Regions from separate parts of the Homo sapiens genome. Here region 1 is linked to region 2. Evidence: promoter capture Hi-C in human tissues and cell types (Jung and others, 2019). All regions are on one chromosome and are shown on one strand. Each heading gives the region's core, a stretch centred on a gene start or on the middle of the fragment in contact. The rest is flanking DNA. Distances are from core to core; before and after follow the strand shown. Region 1 has its middle 32 kb from the start of SMIM23. Region 2 holds the start of FGF18 (fibroblast growth factor 18).

Region 1 (4,538 bases), core at 1,640-4,139, 330 kb before region 2:
TAGTTAAAAATATATAACATAAAATTTTCCATTTTAATGGTTTTCAAGTGTACAGTTCAATGGTATTGATTACATTCACGATGTTGTGCAACCATCACCATGATTTATTTTCAAAACTTTCCATCACCCCAAACAGAAACTATGTAACCATTATGCAACAACGTCTCACTCCCTGGGGGCATAGAGTCCACTTGTTACAAGTGGACACAATTGCACTCAACAAAAAAGAGGGAAAGGAAACTTCCCAGAAGCCCCCAGCTGCTCCTCCTCTGGTCTCATTGGCCAGGATTGGTCACACATCTGTGCTCCAGCTGCAAGGGAGGCTGGGAAAGCAGGTGACTGGCATTTTCAGCCTCTTTATAGGGATATGTGCTCTGCCAGAAACGACGAAGGGAAGGGGAATGTGGTTGGGAAGAGGGCCCAGTATGAAGAGCATTGAGGCCTGGCAGGCATGAGTGCTCAGCCTGCTCTGGGCATCAGTTTCACGTTACCCAGAGGGAGAGACTAGAGAGAGTTTCTTAATCCAGGGAAGCTCCCTAAGTAAGAGGGTGGTTAGGTGAGTGCCTAACTGCAACGTGACAGAAACTATGAAAAAAAAGATGCACACAGCTTTATCTTCCTTTTTTCAGCATCAGGAGACAGTACATCTCTGTTCCTATTTAAAATTAGCCTCTTGGCTGGGTGTGCCTCATGCCTGTAATCCCAGTATTTTGGGAGGCTGGGGTGGGTGGATCACTTGAGGTCAGGAGTTTGAGACCAGCCTGGCCAACATGGTAAAACACCATTTTTACTAAAAATACAGAAGTTATCTGGGCATGGTAGTGCATGCCTGTAATCTCAGCTACTAGTGAGGCTGAGGCAAGAGAATCACTTGAACCCAGGAGGTGGAGGTTGCAGTGAGCTAAGATCATACCACTGCCCTCTAGCCTGGGCAACAGAGCAAGACTCTGTCTCAAAAATAAATAAAAAAAAAAATAAAATAAAATTAGCCCCTCTACCTGTGCTAGTGATTAATTAAGTCATTCTTTTATTCCACAACATCTCTTGAGGGCTCATCGTGTATCAAGAATCATTTATAATTAGTATCATCATTACATTCTGTCCTATTCATGGTCCAGCACAGTGCCTTGTACATAGTAAGCCCTTAATAAATGTTTGTAGGTTTGAACTGATTTACTGTAGGATGTACTAGTTACATCTATCAAGTTTTGGCTCTCTGTAAGATTAAAGCCAGACACATTTTAAAAAATCTTTTTATTTAGGTGCGTCTTACATACAGTAAAGCATATGGATCTTAAGTGGCTCAATGGTCTTTTAATGTATACCCTGGGTAACCAATACCCAGGTCAAGACATAGAATTTGTCCCGTACCCTAGAAGACTTCCTCATGCCTTGACACATTTTTGAGCATATATACATGAATAAACAGATTTTACAATTTTATTATATGTTTTCTTTTATAAACAACCATTAATGTCCCAGAATAAAAAAGGGAGGTGCACAAGAAAGGTCAAGCACAAAGCTGAACTAAGGACATAAAAATCTTCAATGCTAGTTGACAGTTGGTATTAAATTGTTTGACTGTTCAGAATCAGGAATCTTCTACTTAACTGAAGAGATGTGACCCAGGAAATTCTGCTGTCAGGTGAATTTCTGTAAAAAATAATCTTTTCCCATCAATTCCTACCATAAAATTGGAAACATTCTCTGGGGATCCAAATACTGGCCTCTGGCTGTAGACTTACATGTAAAAAAAAAAAAAAAAAAAGCGATTCTCTGATAAAACTTCACCAATAACACTCAAAATGTTAATTAAACTCACAAAACTCAGAATTCTCTGCAGAATTCCAAAGGAATTTCAAAATCATAGCCCTGGGAGTGAAAATGCAGTAAGGAATCTTTGGTAATGTCATGGCCTCATGTCATAACCTTCTTGCAGCAGAATAATTCCATGAGCTAAGAATTCTGGGGGCTTGGCTTTACGGGTAGTGGGTAGTGGGTGGTGGGTTCTTGGTACTAGTAGTGTGACTGACGTCAGTTTGCTTTTCTGAACCACAACTAATTCCTCTCCAGTTTTAAGATACAAATATAAAACTCCTCTCTATTTGACAAGGTTTTTTTTTTATTATTATACTTTAAGTTCCAGGGTACATGTGCACAATGTGCAGGTTTGTTTACATTTACATTAGGTATATCTCCCAGTGCTATCCCTCCCCCCTCCCTCTACCCCACGACAGGCCCCGGTGTGTGATGTTCCCCCTCCTGTGTCCAAGTATTCTCATTGTTCAATTCCCACCTATGAGTGAGAACATGCAGTGTTTGGTTTTTTGTCCTTGTGATAGTTTGCTGAGAATGATGGTTTTCAGCTTCATCCATGTCCCTACAAAGGACATGAACTCATCCTTTTTTATGGCTGCATAGTATCCCATGGTGTATATGTGCCACATTTTCTTTTTTTTTTTGAAGTTATGCAATCAGATTCATTTATTATTATTGACATATGTCTATCCTGCTGAATTTACCCTTTTACTATTATGAAATATTTCTCTAGTCTTTTATAATACATGTTTTTTAAAACCTGCTTTGTCTAATATTAATATACCTATTCCAACACTTTTTGCGGTGGGGATTGTATGCTTAATTTTGTGAGTTCTTTTACTTTCTTTTTATTATTATTATTATTATGCTTTCCAGTCTATCATTGATGGACATTTGGGTTAGTTCCAAGTCTTTGCTATTGTGAATAGTGCCGCAATAAACATACGTGTGCATGTGTCTTTATAGCAGCATGATTTGTAATCCTTTGGGTATATACCCAGTAATGGGATGGCTGGGTCAAATGGTATTTCTAGTTCTAGATCCTTGAGGAATTGCCACACTTGACAAGGCTTTTTTGAGAGTAAAGTGAGGTAATACTTAATGGGTTTTCTTGTTCATTTCTTTTGTTAATTATACACTTGAATAATATCTATTAAGAATCTTCTATGTACCCAGTACTGTGCCAGAGTATAAAGTGATGAACAAGATGGTCATGTTTTCTGCTCTTGTGGAGTTTACAATCAATTGTAGAATAGAGACATCATACAATTGTGCACAGAGCTCCATGTGAAATATGATATGGAAAGGTAGGCAGTCAATCAAAAAAAAACTTTGTTACAATAAGAAATTATAAGAACAATACCTATATGACTTTTACACAGTTTATTTTTACTGAAAATATTCACATATACATTCAGTCACCAATAGTGTGATGTAGGAAAGAGTCTTTTGTGGCGTCTGACTTTGCAGAATAAAGTTCTGTATCTTTTTTCTTTAAAGTGAAACAAAATATGTATGAATTAATACAAGTGCATAATCTTTCTAGAATTTTGTGGCTCTTGTTGCCAGTTGTTTGGAGTTTTCTCCTCACCTCCATCCAACAGATATGTTTTCTGAGACTTGCCTTTATTGATTCTTTCCAAAGTGGTCAACTTAGAAACAGCAATGTTTCTTTAATGCTCTTATTTCATTCGTTGGCATAATATTTAATTAAGTTATGTAATGACAGTACTGAATACATCTGCCATAAATGATTTAGACAGCAAATGCAATGGTCTCTTGGTCAGTAAACAACTCACATGGTGAGAGTGGAAGTTTTTGGGGTTGCTGAAGGATACCTCTATGGGACATAATGCATTTGTCTGCAAGGAACAGAATCTTTAACTGAAACAAGTTTTAAGCTTTGCTTTCAAAAAACTCTCAGTGCATAGTAAAAAAACGCATTTTAAATTGTCCCTTAGCACATATGCAAGAGTATAAACTGAAGCAAATTTTCACAAGCAGCACTTACCTTTACTTTATGTGATGCTACCTAATATTTTTGTCTATTCTTTCCTATTTTAATTCTATTAGAAATGCTAATCATGACCCACTAATATAATCTCATGTCTCATTAATGGAGTGCAACCCACAGTGTGAAAAACACCAGCTTAACCCAATAGGACATTTATTATTTTATGTAGGAAGATGTCTAGAGACGGAGAAGCCCTTGAGATGCTGCAGTAGCTCAGCAGCCTCCTCAAGGTCACAGGTATTTTCCATAGACTTCTTTCTGCGATCTTCTGAGAATTAGGAGTGTCTCCGCTCATGGTGCAAAATGGCTTCCACATCTAGCAGTTGTTACAAGTGGACACAATTTCACCCAACAAAAAAGAGGGAAAGGAAACTTTTCCCAGAAGCCCCCAGCTGCTCCTCCTCTGGTCTCATTGGCCAGGATTGGTCACACGTCTGTGTTCCAGCTGCGAGGGAGGCTGGGAAAGCAGGTGACTGGCATTTTCAGCCTCTTTATAGGGATATGTGCTCTGCCAGAAAAGACGAAGGGAAGGGGAATGTGGTTGGGAAGGGGGCCCAGTATGAAGAGCACTGAGGCTCGGCAGGCATGAGTGCTCAGCCTGCTCTGGGCATCAGTTTCACGTTACCCAGAGGGAGAGACTAGAGAGAGTTTCTTAATGCAGGGAAACTCCCTAAGTAGAAGGTGGTTAGGTGAGTGCCTAATTGCA
Region 2 (4,761 bases), core at 2,091-4,590:
TGTGCCTTCCTGGGTGGATGAGAACTGGCAAAACTACCCCACCCCCCATCATATACCAGTTCAACTCCATGACCAACCATTTCATAAATGATGCAGCTAAGACTCTGGGGATCCACAGAGAGGGAAAGATGGAGCTGGAGCTGGGGTTCAGGCCTAGGCCACTGGATTGCAAAGCCCTGAGCCCTTCCTGCCATGTAGAGAGGCCTCCCTGGCCCCGGCTCACCCTAAAGGAGCTTGAACTGCTACCCGCTAAGTGCAGCCTACCCAAACCTCAGCAGGGAGCAGGCCCCAGATTCCTGGCAGTTAACATCATTTGGCTCCTACCCCTCATTTCAACCATTAAGGCCACCCCACCTTTGCCCCTGTAGTGTGAATGGGGACATAAGCCTGACAACCTTGCCCATAACTCCCAGGATAACATTTCTTTATCTTTAGGGGTCATAGATGTTTTGAAACTCTGTGGGGAGCAGGCAACCCTCTTCCAGACACAGCACATTTGAGCACCATTTTTGTGCAGTGTTTCAGGGACCTCCCCCTCCCACAATCCCATCCTTTGACACTCCAAGGGTACATGGACCATGGGTTAAAAACATCAGTCTTATGGCACTTTGGATGCAGAAAGGCCGGTGGGGACAAGGGGGAAGGTGGAGGTGGTGGGGAGAGGAGGATCCCTCACCTGCTTGAAGGCTGCCTCTTGACCTAACCAGGGCAGACCACCCAGCTCTTTCCCAAGATGCTGGCTCTAGCTCTGGCCAGGAGGTGGAGGTGGGATGCAGAGTCCACACTCCCTCCCTCCAGCTCCCACGGAGAACACAAAGACCACACAGCAGCCCCTCCTGGGCCCTACTTCAAGAAGAACCAACAGCAGCAGGCATCCAGAGGCTTGAGCCACACATCCGCAGGCCTCCCTGCTACTCCTTGCCCATTTCATCCCTCCTGCCCCCAGGCACAGCACTCTGGAAAAGAGCTCTTGCCCAGGTCAGACAAGCAGACCCCCTGGAGTGACCCCAGGGCCTGCCCTCTGCTTGGGGACTCAGCTGCAGACCAGGCAGGCCATGCCTGGCACTGGCCTCCCTCTTTGACACCAGCCGTTCCCCACCCCCACCCCCATCACCACACAGGTCACATCTGCTTTGGCAAACAGCCAGTCTTAAGTTACTGACTCCAGTTATATTGATTCAAGGAGTCACTGGGGACCCCAGCCTGGCCAACAGGAGGAAAGAACCCATCAGTCCGTCCACCCTTCCATCCCCAAGCCCCAATGGATGCCCCCAGCTCAGTGCCTATCAGGAGGGTAACAACCCTCTCCTGGGCGTGGAAGGAAGATAGCAGGCCCACCACCGCCAAACACTGCGAGTGGCTGTTGAGTCGCGCAGTGCTCAAGGCACACAACACTCCTTGAGCCAGAAAACCGGGAGAACCACCAATTTCCTGTGCTCAAGGCTAGCTCTGGGGATCTCCACAATCCAGAAGGCTAAGGTCTAAGAATCTTCTCTAATCCCGGAAAGCCACCTGCCTTCCACCGAGGGGGAAGGGTCAGACAACCCTCTTTTGACCTGTGTCCAGTTCCTCCTGGCCTGGCCCCTTGCAGCACTAGGTGGGTGGGGGCTTGGGGAGCTGACGCTTCCTATTCCCTTTGCCCGCCGCCCCCCGACCCCCACCATGCAGAGGCAGCCCTGGTCTGGTTCTAATCGGGGCTGAAGTCGGCTCCCTTTTTCGCTCTTCTCTCTCCCTCCCCCCAACCCTTTTTCCTTCATTTCTACGGCTTTGGAAGCCAGAGCGTTCCAACTGTCTGCGTGCCAAGACCTTCCCGAGTCTGAAAGCTGCTGAAGTAACAGATCAGATTTTAGCAAGTGCTTTCCAGGCCGAGCGCCAAGCCCTCTTCTGATTCACGGAGAGCGAGCGAACCGGGAGCAGGCGGGGAACCAACGAGGGCTGCACCACCTTAGGCGAGGGAGTGCGGAGCGCGGCCCATCCGGGAGCGGCCTCGCGGGCAGCGGCCACTCGGCCTAGGCGCCCTCGAGCTTCCCCTCGTCCCGGGCATGTGTGTGTGTCTGTGTGTGTGTCTCAGTGCTGCAAGCGCCTTCAAAACCACAGAGTAATTTACAACTGAAGCTTTCTCCCTGGACTCGAAATCCACTCGGCTGAAAGTCTTTTTGTTTGGAAGCGGCGATGTTAAGGGAAGGTTGGCAGAGAAAATCCCTAGGTCCTACCCCTCGCTGGCTGCGGGCAGGGGTCTTAGAGCTGGGTATATTGTTGCGGCTGAGCCCGCCGGCTCTGCGGGATCTCCTCCCAGCCGAGGCCGACAGTGGCCGCGACAGCCAGCGCCTCCTCGGGCCCCGCGGCAGAGCCCCTTGCCCTTGGCCGGTTCCCCGCCGGCGCAGGGCGCACGCGGAGCCGCCCTTCCGCGCCCTGGGAACAGGTGCACTGGGCTCAGCGCCCAGGAGGGGTGGGGCACAGGGAGGGGGCGCGGCCGGGGAAGGGGGGTCGGCGTGTACCGCGAGGCAGGGGCGGGAGGAGGTCAAAGTCAGGAGCCCACGTACCTGTACCTGGAAGCACAGCAGCAGGAAGTGTAAACACCTGCGGGAAACAGATGGAGAAGCGGTCAGTGGGACCTGAGGAAGGGGGCGCACGGACAGACAGACACGCAGTCGAAGAGTCAGGTGAACCGACGGGCGGGCAGACAGAGGTACAGGGCACAGGCATACGGACAGACAGCCAGGCAAGGTGGGCAGCCCCGCGCGCGGGCGCTTACAGGCAAGTGCAGGCGGAGGGCGCTGAATACATCGCTGGGCGGGAGGGAGGCGGCGGCTCCTAGCCCAGCCTGCACATGTCCGCTCCGCGCGGCCGGGACCGGGCGCCTCCGCCGCCGCCGCCGCCGCCGCCGCCGCTGCTGCTGCTCCCTCCTCGCCGGCTGCTGCTGCTGCAGACTCTGCTGCTCCGGGGCGCTCCGCGGCGCGCCCTGCGGCATCAGCGCCCCGCGCGGCTCCTCCCGAGCGCTGCGCCCTCCGGGCTGGCGCAGGGGCTGCGGGGCGGCAGCCGCTGTGCAGGAGGCGCCTGGCCGGTGCGGGGAAGCTCGCTCACTGCTGGCCGGCCGGCCGTCCGGGCGTCCGTGGGAGGCTGGCTGCCCGGCTCAGTCCGGGGACAGCATGCGCGGCGGGTCTGGAAGCCGAGTTGCGCTCTCCGGCCCGGGCGCGGAGCTGCGTGGGGCCAGGGGTCAGCGCTCCGGGGTCGGGGCGCGCGGCTGCAGCGCGAAAGCGTCACGGCCGCTCCGTCTGGGCGCCCGCCGGCTCATGTCTCCTCCTCCGCGTCTCTCCGGCCGTGCGCATCGCCGCCTCCCACCACTGGCGGCGGCCGGGGCGTTTTCTACGCGCGGGCGGCGAGGGGGCGGGGGGCCGGGGGCGGGCCCGGGCCCGAGCCGGCACAATGAGGATGCGGGGCCTGGGGGCTCCCCCCTCGGGGCGCGGCCGGACGGGCGCTCAGCTCGCCTGGGTGCGCCCAGCCCACATCAAAGGCGGCCCTGCCTGCTCGCCTGCCTGCCGCGGCCTCTCGCTGCCTCCTCCTCCTTCTCCTGGCGGCTCGGGGTTGGAGGGGAGGCGCTCAGACTCTCGGAGACGGGACCGGCAGCTCCAAAGGGGCAGGACCCGCGAGACTGAAGCTGGTGAGCGCTGGAAGCCGTCGGAGCTCTGCGCCCGAGCGCAGTGACCGCTCCTCCGCGCAAACGTTGCCCAAATTGGGCAGGCGATGCTCCCCAAGAACGCAGTTAGGTACGGAACGTCCTCACCTGCCCACATTCGCTACTCGCACTCACTCACCAGCGCTCTAGTGGAGAGCCGAGAGGGGCGGGTCAAACCCAGCCCCGGGGCGGCTCCACTGAATGGGGGTCGCTTTTACCCGCCCTGCGATCGTGGAGTTTCCCAGCCACCCTCTTGACTGGCTACCCACTTAAGTGAGCCCCCGTCCTCTTCTTACGTCCCTGCCGCTGCGAAGGGGGCTCCCGGGCATCTCTCCTTCCCACCCCTCGCCCCCTCCGGGGCTCTGGGGTCGGTTCACGGGATCCCAGCTGGACTCTCCCGTAGGCGAGCCAGCTTTGGAAACACACGGCTACCACCAAGCGGCCCCGAGACGTCACTGCAACCCCAGCACGGACGGCTGCACGCCGGGGAGCAGCCAGCAGGACTCTGGTCAGCGACCACGCTGAGGCCCTCTTCCGGCCTCCTCCCAAAACCGGACTAAGACTTGCCTCCGTTTGCATACTAGGCAGCTTCGTTCCTTTAACCAGGGCCCCATTCAGGACACTGGTTCTTACCGCCTCTGCCCCTTCCAGAGGCATAACTCCTGTCCTTCCCACCAACCCCAAAACGTAGGTGTTCTTGTCACGTACCTGCCTCACTGTCTAGAGCTGGTGTCAGCCAAGCTCTGCTTGAGCCTGATGCTAAGGAAAATAGGTCACAGTGAGAAAGACGCTGGAGGACAGGCTCAAGCAAAACTCAGGAATCTGGACTATTTGGTTAAAGCCTCCTTGCGTTGGCAATGGTTGATGGTCCACTGGAGCATAAACTGAGGTAGGACTGTCGAACAGTGCTATTTGCTGAAGCCATGACTATAAAACATTAGTAATTGTTCCAAATATCAGGCCTCCTTGCAAGCTATTTTAAGTTCCCTTTCAAAGCTGAGGCTATTTTAAACAGATAGCCTCTGTTTCAACATCGGACACAAGTGCAGAAAACCTTTTCAAAACCAGGTGCTGAGGGGGAAAAT

The links. Contacts are between HindIII fragments. The study calls those that stand out against the background at their distance.
Region 1: a contact is called between a fragment that was not itself captured here and the fragment with the promoter of FGF18 in region 2, in 2 of the 25 tissues and cell types used here (heart left ventricle and liver).

Annotation. Positions count from the first base shown.
Region 1 is chr5:171,751,353-171,755,890 of GRCh38, reverse strand. No RefSeq gene overlaps it. Among named protein-coding and RNA genes, the nearest start is that of SMIM23, 32 kb to the left of the region's middle. The HindIII fragment of the contact is 6,329 bases long and covers 1-4,538 here.
Region 2 is chr5:171,418,226-171,422,986 of GRCh38, reverse strand. FGF18 (fibroblast growth factor 18) reads right to left here and starts at 3,340. Exons shown (of 5, transcript NM_003862.3): 1 at 2,756-3,340; 2 at 2,544-2,580. The coding sequence starts at 2,787. RefSeq lists silencers at 2,834-2,913, 2,974-3,023, 3,164-3,273, 3,394-3,503. The HindIII fragment of the contact is 5,522 bases long and covers 101-4,761 here.